Linked DNA regions of Homo sapiens: all the other regions are linked to region 3. The links are contacts of gene promoters, found by promoter capture Hi-C in blood cells and fetal thymus (Javierre and others, 2016). All regions are on one chromosome and are shown on one strand. Each heading gives the region's core, a stretch centred on a gene start or on the middle of the fragment in contact. The rest is flanking DNA. Distances are from core to core; before and after follow the strand shown.

The links. Contacts are between HindIII fragments. The CHiCAGO score rates a contact against its expected background, and 5 or more counts as called.
Region 1: a contact is called between a fragment that was not itself captured here and the fragment with the promoter of OSBPL7 in region 3, in 1 of 17 cell types (M1 macrophages). The highest score is 5.1, in M1 macrophages.
Region 2: a contact is called between a fragment that was not itself captured here and the fragment with the promoter of OSBPL7 in region 3, in 2 of 17 cell types (M1 macrophages and M0 macrophages). The highest score is 7.0, in M1 macrophages.

What each region holds. Positions count from the first base shown.
Region 1 is chr17:47,720,470-47,724,829 of GRCh38, reverse strand. No RefSeq gene overlaps it. Among named protein-coding and RNA genes, the nearest start is that of TBX21, 11 kb to the left of the region's middle. The HindIII fragment of the contact is 8,318 bases long and covers 1-4,360 here.
Region 2 is chr17:47,703,681-47,708,410 of GRCh38, reverse strand. TBKBP1 (TBK1 binding protein 1) reads right to left here. Exons shown (of 10, transcript NM_001394755.1): 8 at 1-17. Among named protein-coding and RNA genes, the nearest start is that of TBKBP1, 12 kb to the right of the region's middle. RefSeq lists a silencer at 4,008-4,107. The HindIII fragment of the contact is 1,982 bases long and covers 2,233-4,214 here.
Region 3 is chr17:47,820,397-47,824,947 of GRCh38, reverse strand. OSBPL7 (oxysterol binding protein like 7) reads left to right here and starts at 3,154. Exons shown (of 23, transcript NM_145798.3): 1 at 3,154-3,282. It overlaps MRPL10 (mitochondrial ribosomal protein L10), which reads left to right. Exons shown (of 5, transcript NM_145255.4): 5 at 490-1,676. The coding sequence ends at 743. RefSeq lists an enhancer at 2,696-2,865 and a silencer at 2,976-3,191. The HindIII fragment of the contact is 20,101 bases long and covers 1-4,551 here.

The DNA.
Region 1 (4,360 bases), core at 415-2,914, 99 kb after region 3:
GGACATTCTTTCAGCTGTCTTCCCACAACCCCTTAAATTGCAGCTTAATCCCATTTCCTTTTCTGAGGTCACTGAAACTCATGGAGAGATTAGCACCTGAAATTTGGGAGTAGAACGGAGGCCTGGGATCCACATGCCACAACTCCCTTCCTTATAAATCCTAGGCACAGGCAGAAATCAGGCAAGCAACCAGTGTGTGAAGCAGAGGGACAAACCAGGCATTAGGCTCCCAGCAGTGCTGTCTCCAGCTGAGTGGGCACCTGGGTCCCAGCCACTGGAATGGAGGACACCCAAGGCCATGTTGGCGCGAAAATGGATTGGCTAGGTCTGACCTTGAGTTTAACCCCACTTACCACCCCAGACACAGATCCGCTCTGACACACAAGTCTGAGATTTCCCCAGGAGCCTGCTGTTTGCTGCTTGCCCCGCTCAGTTACCCAGGAAGTGTCAGAAGGCGTCCAGCCTACCTCCTCCCACCAGGGCCATGGGCAGCTGGCTGGACCGAGCTGGGCACTGAGAAGGGCCCTGGACCCACGTCTCTGGCCACAGGGGACATAAAGGTGGCATGGCTGCCCAGCATTGCCCCCTCTCCTTGCTCACCGCCATTTCTTTCCAATCACTGGCATCAGAACCTGACATTCTGTGAGTTGGGAAAGGATGGTTATGGTCAGGCAAGTTCTTAGCAACTGGACCAGTAACTGGGAGTTGAGATACTGACCTCATCACCTTGCATTTCACACACATGCACACACTGAACTAGGGCCACCCAAGACCCAGGGCCCTGCAAATAGGCAGTGGGGCATGGGGCTCCCAGGTTCCCATGCATGACCCTGGATGTTGCCAAATCTAGCTTGTACTTTGTCTCAATCCTTGACTCCCAGTGAGTTTGGAAACTGTAAAAACCCCAGTTCTTCCTAATTAACCCCCTCCTCCTATCACCACTCTGGGTTGAGGGGTAAAGGATGAGATAAGAGAATATCCCGGCCAGGCATAGTGGCTCATGCCTGTAATCCTAGCACTTTGGGAGGCCGAAGTGGGCAGATCACTTGAGATCAGGAGTTCGAAACCAGCCTGACCAACATGGTGAAACCCCATCTCTACTAAAAATACAAAAAAACCTATCTGGTCGTGGTGGTAGGTGCCTGTAATCCCACCTACTAGGGAGGCTGAGGCAGGAGAATTGCTTGGACCCGGGAGGCGGAGGTTGCAGTGAGCTGAGGCTGTACCACTGCACTCCAGCCTGGGCAACAGAGAGAGACTGTCAAAAAAAAAAAAAAAAAGAACATCCCCAGGCAACTCGTACCCTTTATTTCCTTTCTTTCTTTCTCTCTCTCTCTCTTCTTTTTTTTTTTTTTTTTTTTGGTTAAGACTAGTCAATATACCTTTGATTTCATTAGACTTCACAATGGTGTGAAGGCAACTGGGTGGGAACCATTGTTCCCATTTTACAGACAAGGAAACTGAGATATAAAAAAGTTAAGTATCAGCCAGGCACAGTGGCTCATGTCTGTAATCCCAGCACTTTGGGAGGCCGAGGCGGGAGGATCACAGGGTCAGGAGATTGAGACCATCCTGGCCAACATGGTGAAACCCCGTCTCTACTAAAAATACAAAAATTACCTGGTGTGGTGGCACGCGCCTGTAGTCCCAGCTACTCAGGAGGCTGAGGCAGGAGAATTGCTTGAACGAGGGAGTTGGAGGTTGCAGTGATCTGGGATTGTGCCACTGCACTACAGCCTGGTGACAGAGCGAGACTCCATCTCAAAAAAAAAAAAGTTAAGTACCAGCTGGGCACAGTGGCTCATGCCTGTAATCCCAGCACTTTGGGAGGCTGAGATGGGTGTATCACTGGAGGTCAGGAGTTCGAGATCAGCCTGGCCAATATGGTGAAACTCCATCTCTACTAAAAACACAAAAATTAGCCGGGCGTGATGGCACATGCCTGTAATCCCAGATACTAAGAGGCTGAGACAGGATAATTGCTTGAACCCAGGAGGCAGAGGCTGCACTGAGCCGAGATCGTGCCATTGCTCTCCAGCCTGGGCAACAGACAGAGATTCTGTCTCAAAAAAAAAAAGAAAAGTTAAATACCTTGTCAAGATCACATGGCTGGTGACCTAATGAACACTTACTGTGCACTTTCCTGAGTGGAGCCTCCCACACCTGTGTGAAGAGGACACTATCGTTCCCATTTTGCAGATGAGAAGCTGGTGCTCAGAGAGGTGACACAATTTTCCCAGGCTCTCAGTTATTTTTATCCCCTGACCCTCTCTCCTTATAAGGTACCCAACCCAACCCGGGCTGAGTCCTTCTCCTTATTCCCTCTGGAGAAAGGCAAGATGGAAGGGCCCTCTATGTCACCCAGTGAGTGTTCCCCTATGTTTTGGGAAGTCATCCTGGTGTCCTAATTGACATTACCCTTCCCTCAACCCAGGCCTCTTCTCACCTCTCCTGGTGTCCTTTCTGTCTGATGACCCTGCAGAACCCGACCCCGTTACTCAGCAAATCCCATCCTGCTGATGGGGTAGGAGTGGGGAAGCAGGGCTGAGAGACCGAAAGGGGCAGGGACTAGCTTCGTCACACAGCAGCCACTGTGGCAGTGGAGGAAGATGAGTCCAGATGGGAAGGACCCAGGAGTCCTGGTTTCCAGGTGGAGTGAGAGGCAGGAGCCTTCCTCACTTCTCCAAACTCCCTGCCCCAGGCAACGGAGCCCACTGCCAGCCATCCAAGCTGTTAGGTGTTTCTGCCTGAGGAGGGAAGGGGCCTGGGCAGCTCCTAGAATGGGAAGAGAATGCCACTGGGCATGTGCCCTGCCAGGCAGTGCTTCCGTCTTTCTGCCCACGCCTAAGTTCATCACACCTTCTGCTCTGCCCTCCTGCTAATCGAACCTGCACTCTCCTCCCTCTTGCTTTTCACCTTGGGACACGTGAGCCAGTGGCCAAGAGTGAGGCAGCAGAGCCAAGTGGAGCCACCAGCTGCCTCATCCCCTCCATGCCAGCCAGACTGCCTGGGATTCTGGGGATCCCTGTATGCCCCTGCCGCAGCCTCAGCAGTAGCTCTGTCGACAGCTCTTAGGAGCTCCTGTTCCGGGCTGGAAGTGAGGAGGGGGCTTTCCTTGACAACAAACAGGGAAATGGGGGGCCCCACGCCCTGGCCCCAGGCTCTTCTTACGATCTAACCCCCTTGGGGCAGGCCCTTCTTCTCGAAGAAACCCAGGGAAGGCTTCCAAAAAAATCACCTGAGGCAGAGTCCCTTTCTTGCCCCGGGCTATAAGTTCTTCTTCTAGTCTAACCTTGATCCCTTGCAGAGGGGTGGAAGAGGGCAGAGATGAATTGCAGTTTCTTATAAACCTGGTGGCTTCTAGTTCCCCGACGACAATACAGCGGAGGAGCCCTGTGGTTCTGGCTCTGAGTCAGGCCCCATCGCCCGGGCGTCCCCAGTGCCATCTCCCTCCGCCCCTCCCCGGACTGGAAAATCAGGCTCATGCCTCTGCCGAGAGTCAGTGCTTCCCCTCCTTCCCCTCACCATCTCGCTTTCCCCTAAAGGGAGGTGTTTCCTCGAAGCAGGGAAAAGTCAAGGGGGCAGAGACCTCACCAGCCACCGGGAGGCGGCACTCGGTAGGCACGGGCACGGGGTGGGGGTGGGGCGACCCTGCCTTCCTCTCCCTTCCCCCTCCACCCCTCCAGCCCAGCTCCCCGGCCATGCTCTTCCAGACGGCTGCATGTGTGCGTGTGCACACACACTTAAAACACGTGTGTGGTTGGTATGTAGGGGGGCCCTCTAGCCCCCCGAGGGAGAGGGCGGGTGGAGGAGGGAAGGAAGGTGTCATGCCTCTGATGTGCCTATCAGTGACACAAACTTTTTCCACACGTATGTTCTTCACACGTTCTGGGTCTGCACGTGCTCATCATGCCTCCCGAGTCACATGTCTGATCGGCGTCCCGCTCCCCCGCTTGGCATTGATCCCTGGGTATTAAGCGGATTCCCTCCGCCTCCCTGTGAGGAGACCCGCCCACCTCGGGAGGGAAGGGTTGGGAATTCAGGAGTCTCTGAGGATACCGGCACCTCCCTCTCAGAAAACTGGCTCCTCCTCCCAGCAGAGGACCCTCGGCCTGGTGGGGGCAGGTCACAGACGTGCCATGCAGACCCTCAACCTTCCCATCTGTTTGAGGGCTCAAAGAGATATCAAAACTCCACCCCTAGACCCTGGATGTAGGTGGGAGAGTTTGGGGAGGGTCTCACCCCTTGGGGAAATTGAACCCAGCCGGGGAGTGGTTAGGAAGGTCTAGGTCAGCAATCAGAAGAACTCACGTGCACCTCGCTGTCAGGGGTGGGGGGAGTATGAGGGAGCCTAAACAGA
Region 2 (4,730 bases), core at 1,974-4,473, 120 kb after region 3:
CCAGCGCCAAATTCACCCTGAAGTCAGAGGGCAGTGGGAAAGACGAGAAGGGCAGTGGGTCTACCGTCCCAGCTGTGGAGGAAGAACTGGCTCTACCCCAGCATCTGGCCCCACCATGCTCCCTCCCACCCGCAGGGCCCTCCTACCCCAATTGCAGAAATCCTCCCTACCTTTAAGGTCCAGCTCAAAAGCCACCTCTTCCAGGGAGACTCCCTCTGCATCCTGAGACCCATTCCCTGGGCTAGGGCAGTGGTTCCCAGCCTAAGTGCAGGGACAGGGAGCAGAGAGATTCCAAGGGCTCCCTGAATCCCTGCATCAGGCACTGTCCGTGGTCTGAACACAGCTCATACAGGTATGTGTGAATGTTTTTCTAATCTGTGCAAAAGCTGTGATGATGAATTAAAGCACCGATTCATCAAAAAGCTGTACTGAATTTATAGTAGCTTCTGTCACTGTGAATTTTCTCAAGCAATGCATACTAAAAGTGTTATAATCTGTGTACTGGGAGTGGGATCCATGAAGAGTCCTCACCTTTGAAAAGGTTGGGGACCCTGCTGCATAGAATAGCTCGTTCCATAAGTGAAGATGGTTTCCTGGCTGGTGGAGGTGCTAACTGATAAACTTAACCCCAAGCCAGCCCAATTCCATGTCCACTGCACCTGGCTCGACCTCAAAGCTGCCTCTGGGCTCTTTTCAGCTTTGCCCCTCCCAGGACCTCCTTGCTGTACAACTCCACCAGGGCCTTAACACTGAGATCTTTGTGAACAGCTGCTGTACACTGCACACTTGCAGTGAGTGCCAGTCACACCAGGCACTTCTCAAAGGCTGCCTTGTTCTAGAACTTTATGGGAAGTTTCTTGATGGTGAGGATTACGTCATTGTATTTATATTCCCACCACCTTGTCCAGGGCCTGGAACCCAGCAGATGTTCAGTAAGTGGATAATGCATTTGAGCCTCTCCCTCCATTTTTCTTTCTCCTTCCCTTTCTTCCTCCCTGCTTCCTGTTCAGGCATCTTGGGCACCCACCCTCATGGAGCTGGAACAGACTTGGCAAGGAACCTCACCCACTTCCTTTATCTCTAGGTCACTTGCAACCCAGAACCATGGAAGGTCATCACTCCACTGCTCTCTGCTTTCTCCCACTGTGGCCTGCACGGCCCCAGGAGCCCTCCCTGACCTCATGGGAAGCTCTGCCATGCCCTTGGGCCCTGCCTTCATCACTGTTCTGAGTGTGGACAGAGCCTTGAATCTCCCTGAAGGCAGAGATTTAGGTTTCTTTGGCTCTCCCCACCTCCAGCTCCAGAAGGGACTCGGGGAACTTAGTGGAAGATGGAGCTGGGAGAAAATACCAGGTGTCACTCCACACAGATCTCTTCCCAGGGGAGGTCTTGTCCCAGGACAAGGGGGCTCAAGTTCTTAAGCCTGGAGGGCCCTGTCCCCATCCCATAGTGATGGACATGTGGATGGGAGAGTGTGAAGAGAGGTGTGAGGCCAGGCTGATGAATGAGGAAAGGCGTGAATGAGCGTAGGGGTGTGTGCGTGTGTGTGTGTGTGTGTGTGTGTGTGTGTGTGTGTGTGTGTCTAAGTCTAACCCTAAAGGAGAGGAGGGGAAGTCGTGAGGTTAGGGCTTCAGAGGGCAGGAAAAGAGAGGTGGAGAGGGTAGATAATGACTAGGCTCCCTGCTGTCGCTCACTGGCTGTCTCTTACTAATCCTGGGGCAGAAACTGCCCCTCCCACAAGACTATTTTTAACCCACTTGGGCCAAAGCCAAATTACTGCAAATGGGCCAGGTCTCTGGGAGACAGCCCTCTTCTTAGGGAGGGAGTCCTCGCCACCCATCTGATGGTGAGCAGGGCTGGGCAGGCAGAGAGGAAGGAGTCCCAGAAGCTGCTGCTGAGACCCTGCAGCCTCCATCCCATCACATCTCAGCCCTTGTTTTTGTTAAATGTGTCCTGTGCCCCCTCATCCTCAGCTCATGGGTCTGTGGGAAGAAATGGCATCTCCCCCATCAGACTGGGAGGTCCAGGTGTGTCCCACGTCAAATTGGGGACTCCCCAAGGGAAGGCTTCCCCTTCAGACTGAGGACATCTGTGGGCAGGAGCTGTGTGTCCCCCATCAGACTGGCGGTTTTTGGAGGGCAGGATCGTGCTATCTCCTTGGCAGCAGGGGAAGGAGAGGGCTCTGGGCAGGGCACAGACAGAGTGTGGTCCTCTGTCCACATAGCCAAAGCTTCTCTCACCATCCATTTTCACTGCTGTATCTCAGGCGACAGATACAGGTCGTCGTCTTCACACCCCGCCTCAGAGATTTCACCTGCCACACTCAGTTCCCAGGTCCCTGTCACTCCCCTGCTTGCCTCCCTCCCCTTGTCAGGAGCTACCCCAGTTTCTACCACCCAGCCCCTGGCATCCTTCTCACAGTGAAACAGACAGGGTGGCTGAAAATGGAAGGAAGAAGCCCTGGCCCACAATGCCCAGCCCCTCTCCCAGCTCTGCCACCTGGGGCCTGAGGCAGGTGGGTTCTGTCCACCCAGAACTTCAGGCAACCCTCACAAAGACTGCTAAGTCCCCGGCAAGGTGATTGACTTGACCTCCTCCTGATGCCCCATGGCCTTTTGGGACCTCCCCCTTCATTGGGTGTCTCTCTCCATCTCAAGATGCACAGGCCTGGGCCGCTGAAGATGCTAACGACCTGAATGACTCACTGAAAACACTGCCAATTCAGTGGAAAAAAAAATCTCAACTTCACAACACAACCAAGAGTTGCACACGTGCACCGAAATACACATTCCATTTCCTGGCTTCCTGGCCCACACCTGAGTGCTTTTTCACCATCATGACTGCTTGGGAAGAATGGGTCAGGTAAGTGGCAGCAGATGGCTGCATTTGGATGCTGCTTTATTGCTTACATGACAGGAGAAAGTTCTGAGTCTTTCAAAACCTGGGAGGCACCCAGAGAGAAAAGAATCGGATGATCTGTTTGAGTGCTCACCCCGGGGCCAGGCACTCTGCTGAGAACTTTATTCATCTCCACAACAACCCTACGGCATTGCCACTGTTACCTTCATTTTACAGATGAGAAAACTGAGGCTTACAGAGGTTAAGTTACTTGACCAAAATCATAAAGCCTACTAGCAATGGAGTTGCTGGGATGGGAGCTCTGCCCCCTAGACTCCAAAGTCCAGGCTACTGACCATCATGCTATAACGTCCCCCAAAGAAGCGGGAAGGAGGGGAGAGGAAAGGCAAGGCAGCAACAGAAGGGAAAGACGAAGAGGAGGAGGGGACTGGGGACCTTGGCAGTGGCCTGGAAGCCCTGAGAATCACCACCCCTTCCCTGGGGGTGATAGGAAGGTGCTAGACACATGTGGAAGTAGAAAATCAGGGCGATTAAGAGGCTGGCTCAAGGTCACAGAGTGGCAGTGGCACACAGCAGATTCAAACACAGGTTCTTGGCACCTCAGCCTGCCAAGCTGGCAACTTCGGAGGAGCCAGAGAGCAAATGGCAGAGCTGGCAGGAAGGAGGGCCCCCTGGGCTGCAAATATTCCACGCTTCGCATCCTTTCATTCAGTCTTTCCACGAATAATTCACAGATCTCACACACTTCTGGAAACGATAAAGCTGGGGACTGCCTTGAGGACAGGATTAAAGGAGCCAGGGTCAGACTAGGAGTGGGGTTGATGTAGCACGTGGCCAAGATTGTGGACAGAGCTGAAGGTCAGGATCAGGGATAGGGTTAGAGTCAGGGACGGGAGCAGTAAAAGGGTTAGGATTAGGGTTAGGTTTAGAGCTGTCCATGTGGTCAGAATCATCGTCTGATTCAGAATTGGGAGGAAAACAGAAATCCAACCTTCCAGGGCCCTTCCATCCTTGCTCAAAGCTGCCCCCAGCTGCCCCAGCCACCTCACCCCTGTGGGATAATTTAGGGACCAAACTTTCCACCACCCACAGGCACACCCAGCATCAGTCTTCCCGCCCGACCCTCGGGGAGGGGACCACAGGCACCGGGCCGTGGAACGGACTTGAGGTTGCGGGCCGGCGGGGAGGAGGAAGTTGCTTTGCAACAACCCAGTGCTCCACCACTTCCTTTCGGGCGCCTTGAGCCCCTTCTCTCTCCTCGACCAGCTATGACTGGTGGGGTCCCCAGAGCCTGGCTCTTCATGGCAGCCCCTGCCACGAATCCACCAGAGCTGACATCCCGGGTCTAGAAAGCTTCCCAGATGCAGCTGATTGGAGCAGCTCAGGGGTAGGCCTGGAAACCAGGGTTCCTACATAGGTGGGGTGCCCAGAGATCCCAGTTTGCCTAGGACTGTCCCAGTTCACGCTAGTTGCCCCAGCATAATTATTAATAGTGCCCCCTTTCACTTTCAAAAGTGATCCAGTCTGGTCAACAAATCACACGGTTGCCCCTCATATAAGGGCTTTCTACCTGAAGAAGAACCTGAACCAGAAACACACCGCAGAGGTGCCATCACCCGATCTGCTCAGGACCCACTTGGCATCTGCACTGAATTTCTTACTGAACTCTCAGATTACTTCACTTCCCTGCACCTCAGTTTGCTCATCTGTAAAAGGGGGACAATACCTACATCACGTTTGTGAGAATGAAATGAGATTTTGTAGGTAAATCACCTCGCATAGTGTCTGGCATGGACAAAAAAAAAAAAAAATTTCAGGGGAGTGCCTAGCAGATAGGTGGAGAAGGGGGGAAACTTGTTTTGAGCCTTTTT
Region 3 (4,551 bases), core at 1,905-4,404:
CTACCTCCCGGGTTCAAACGATTCTCCTGCCTCAGCCTCCCGAGTGGCTTGGATTACAGGCGCTCGCCACCATGCCTGGCTAATTTTTGTATTTTTAGTAGAGACGGGGTTTCTCCATGTTGGCCAGGCTGGTCTTGAACTCCTGACCTCAGGTGATCTGCCTGCCTCAGCCTCCCAAAGTGCTGGGATTACAGGCATGAGCCACCACACCTGGCTGCCTGATTCTTATTTACAAGGAAGTTTAGGAAACACTGACTTAATAGGGGTCAGGGCCAGGTGGATATATTAAGAGTTTTCTGAGGGAAGAGTGAAGAAGTAGGGATCGATCCCAAGCAGAGTGGGTGTGGTGTGGGGCACAGTGGAACCCAGGTCCTGGGGAAGGCAGGATTTTGAGAAGGGCAATGGAGAGCAAGTTACTAGGGTCAGAATATTGTTTTCAGAGAAGAAAGGCAATCTGCAAGGAGCCTAACTGACCCTGTGTTCTTCCAGGTGGCTGCATTGATGACACCATCCTCAGCAGGCAGGGCTTTATCAACTACTCCAAGCTCCCCAGCCTGCCCCTGGTGCAGGGGGAGCTTGTAGGAGGCCTCACCTGCCTCACAGCCCAGACCCACTCCCTGCTCCAGCACCAGCCCCTCCAGCTGACCACCCTGTTGGACCAGTACATCAGAGAGCAACGCGAGAAGGATTCTGTCATGTCGGCCAATGGGAAGCCAGATCCTGACACTGTTCCGGACTCGTAGCCAGCCTGTTTAGCCAGCCCTGCGCATAAATACACTCTGCGTTATTGGCTGTGCTCTCCTCAATGGGACATGTGGAAGAACTTGGGGTCGGGGAGTGTGTTTGTCACTTGGTTTTCACTAGTAATGATATTGTCAGGTATAGGGCCACTTGGAGATGCAGAGGATTCCATTTCAGATGTCAGTCACCGGCTTCGTCCTTAGTTTTCCCAACTTGGGACGTGATAGGAGCAAAGTCTCTCCATTCTCCAGGTCCAAGGCAGAGATCCTGAAAAGATAGGGCTATTGTCCCCTGCCTCCTTGGTCACTGCCTCTTGCTGCACGGGCTCCTGAGCCCACCCCCTTGGGGCACAACCTGCCACTGCCACAGTAGCTCAACCAAGCAGTTGTGCTGAGAATGGCACCTGGTGAGAGCCTGCTGTGTGCCAGGCTTTGTGCTGAGTGCTGTACATGTATTAGTTCCTTTACTGCTGACCACATTGTACCCATTTCACAGAGAAGGAGCAGAGAAATTAAGTGGCTTGCTCAAGGTCATGCAGTTAGTAAGTGGCAGAACAGGGACTTGAACCAAGCCCTCTGCTCTGAAGACCGCGTCCTGAATTTCTTCACTAGAGCTTCCTCATCAGGTTACCCAGAAGTGGGTCCCATCCACCATCCAGGTGTGCTTGGATGTTAGTTCTCCACCCTCGAGGTGTACGCTGTGAAAAGTTTGGGAGCACTGCTTTATAATAAAATGAAATATATTCTACTTCCTTTATTTTGTGGTTTACACGGTTGTCCTCCCTCTAAACTTACTCTCAGGGGCTTCTCTGTCATCTGACTTTCCTCACTCTTGCTTCCCTTCCTAGGAAAATCCTCTTCCCCTATACCTGTTCCCACAAATGGCATCCCGCGCATGCTTGCCCTATTAAAGGCAGCTGACAGCTGTACCCACTAGCTAACGTGTCTCTGGTGGTTCTGGACAAAAGGCCTGCGGGAAAACTAGGATTCTCTATTAATGGGGAATTCTGAGAGCTCTAGGGTAGGAGGCCTCATGCAAGTCTTCATGAACCAGAAATTCCTAATAAAGGAGACGGGATGCTTAACTCAGAGTCCACCATCATCCTTGACTGGAGCACATTCTGGGTGGATGCAGGGGTGACCCGGGGAAGGTGGCTGTTCAACATTCCTTCTCGGACTTGAAGCAATGCCACCGCTTCCTTAGTCTTGGACAGGCACTGTCTGGCAGGGATGACCTGCAGCAGCTCTTTTGTGGCCTGGGCCAGGACCAGCTTCCCCCAGTGCCTCATCCTGTGCTGTATGCCCAGGGATGTTCAATCACTGGGAAGTGGCTTAAAAGGCCCTTGAGGCTCCTGGATGCCAGAGCTTGTCTGGTCAGTGCTGCCCAGTGCTCCTGTCCCTCCCAGAACCCTGCCAGGTGCTAACAACACCCTCCTCCTGGGGTGGCTGGAGCAGCACTGAGGCTCTGAATAAAGGCAAGACAGTGGGTGTTCCCGAGAGATATGTGAGACCCTGAAACGTAAACCAAGCTCGGTGAGGATGAAGTGGAAGGGATAAGTGGCCCATGTCACTTTTGGGGTCAGAGAAGAAACTTGAATCACATCCTTCACCTGAGGCCCCACCTACTTCTTTCCAGAAAACTTAGCTGCGCTTGAAACTGTAGGTCTATGCCACATTCATTTGAATGAATTTTAGATCTTTGTTAAGAGCCGATTTTTCATTAGAATTGAGCAGCTGGGCACAGTACTCCAGCAGAAGGGTAAAGGGAAGGGAGGGGACCAGCATTGCAGCCCTTTTAACGGCAGCTGTGACTGCCCCAGGCCTGCTCCTGATCAGAGACTGCAGGCTGTGGGGTGTCTTCATACACACAAGCACTTTCAGATCTCCATGGGGCCTGACCTAGTGGGGCATCACCCCAGTGAAGGGCCTCAGTGTGGGGACTGCTGGCTGTCCCTTTCCTGGCTTGACTGCCCCTGCTGACTGTGCTCTTGGCACTCTCTTATGGTCCCAGAGGGGGCATCTGTCCCTCCACCATCAACCTGATACTTTTGCTGGCTCCAAATTTTGCAGTCTATTTTCAGATGTAAAATGAGAGGCGGGGGGCGGGGGTTAATTAGGAATTGGCCTTGGGTACTAACAGGGTCACTGCCATGCTAGTCTGAATAAATCCTTTATCACCACTGGCGTACAGCCAACAGTTCCCCAGTCCTCTGATCTATCTGGAACCATGCCCAGCAGGGACTGTGCCCCCACTCCCAAGCCACATCGATGCTAGGGCAGTCTGCTCAGCCCTGAGTCCTCCGGGGAGCAGGGGGGCAGAGCTGAGCGGCTGCCCGGAGCTTGGCGGGAGGAGGGGACAGGGGAGAGGGAGGTGGGGAGATCCGGCTAGAGGGGAGGCTCTGACATCTCCTTCCTTCCTGGTTCCTGCAGCAGCTGCTGCCACTGCTCAGCGCGGTGAGGAGGGAGCCGGTGACTCGGAGACGGTGACTCAGAGGCAGAGCGGCGCAAGGGCCAAGGAGTACTGGCGTCCATGGACCCTGGGGTAAGGGGGCTGCGTGGCAGCAGCTGACATTCCTGAGAAGAGCTTCCTCCCACCTGAAGCTGGTGGGTCTGCTCCTGAATAGAGGTGGAGAGGGGGCACCCACCTGGCTCACCTAGACCCTTCACCTGCCTACCGATAGAGCCTCCCCCTCTACCCACAAGCAGTGAGGGGCCAGGATCCCCACAGGGCCGGGAGAAGGGCCCAGAGATACCTGAACACCGGAAGAGTTTGAGAACTTTCAATGGCTGAATGCAGGAGTTTCCTCCCAGGTCAGCCTCTTGCAGCAAGGGTCCCTCTGCCCCAACCTCCTGGGCACCCGTTCCTGCCACATCCCTGTCCCCTCTGGGCCTCAGTTCCTCAGGTGCTTGCTAGCTCCATTAGAAGATCTGGGCTGCTTCCCCCACCTCAAACCAGCCTCGCCCCTCCAGTCCCCTCCCCCGTCTCACACATGCAGAGCCTCATGCATTATTGATCTCCCGGTGGAGCCAGGATGGCCAGGGCCAGTGCCAAGGGTGCCTGTGGGCACTGCTGCAGGACCTGTGCAGACCTGGGCATGTCCTGGGCCCCCTCTTCTCTCATGAAGTATCTCCTTTAGCCCAATGTCCTGCCCTCTCTGGGTGGGTGGCACTTCTCAGAGCCCCAAGGACTGTGAGGGTAGACAGGGGATGGTGAGGCTTTAGGGGGTACTGAGGGTCCAAAAAGGGCATCCTAGGGGCATGTTTGGTGGGAGGAGACATGGGAAAATGGGGGCTATCTCAGGCCTCAGTTTCTCCAAGCACTAGATAATATGGAGATTAATTGGTGGGAGGCTGGGGAGTTTTCTGCAAGATCATGGCAGAGAAGTCTCTGAGCTACGGTGGCAGGGTGGAGGGGTCCTGAAGGCAGAGGCAGCTGGATTGAGGAGGTCTCGCTTGTCCAGTCTCTGAACCCCTCTGTCTCTTCTTGGAGCCTCTTCTGTCACTCCCTTGCTTCACCTCTGAGCACTCCCAGGGAAGCCTCTAAAGAAAGCACTGAATGTTTCTTGGAGCCCCAGAGTATGTGCCCAAGGCGGGGCTGGGCATATGTCTTGTGGTTTTCCCTGGGCACCTGCCCGTCTGCTGTGTGCTAGTTCACTCTCAGGGCAGTGTCCATATCAGGTGAAAATGGGTGGGGTCGGGACAGAGGGGCAGACTTGGGAGAGGCTTGGCAGGTGAGCAGAGGGTATGTTGGGGAGCCCTTATCTCAGAGGGTGTGGGAGGGGCTGGAGGTGGGGAAGGTGATAGCAGAGTT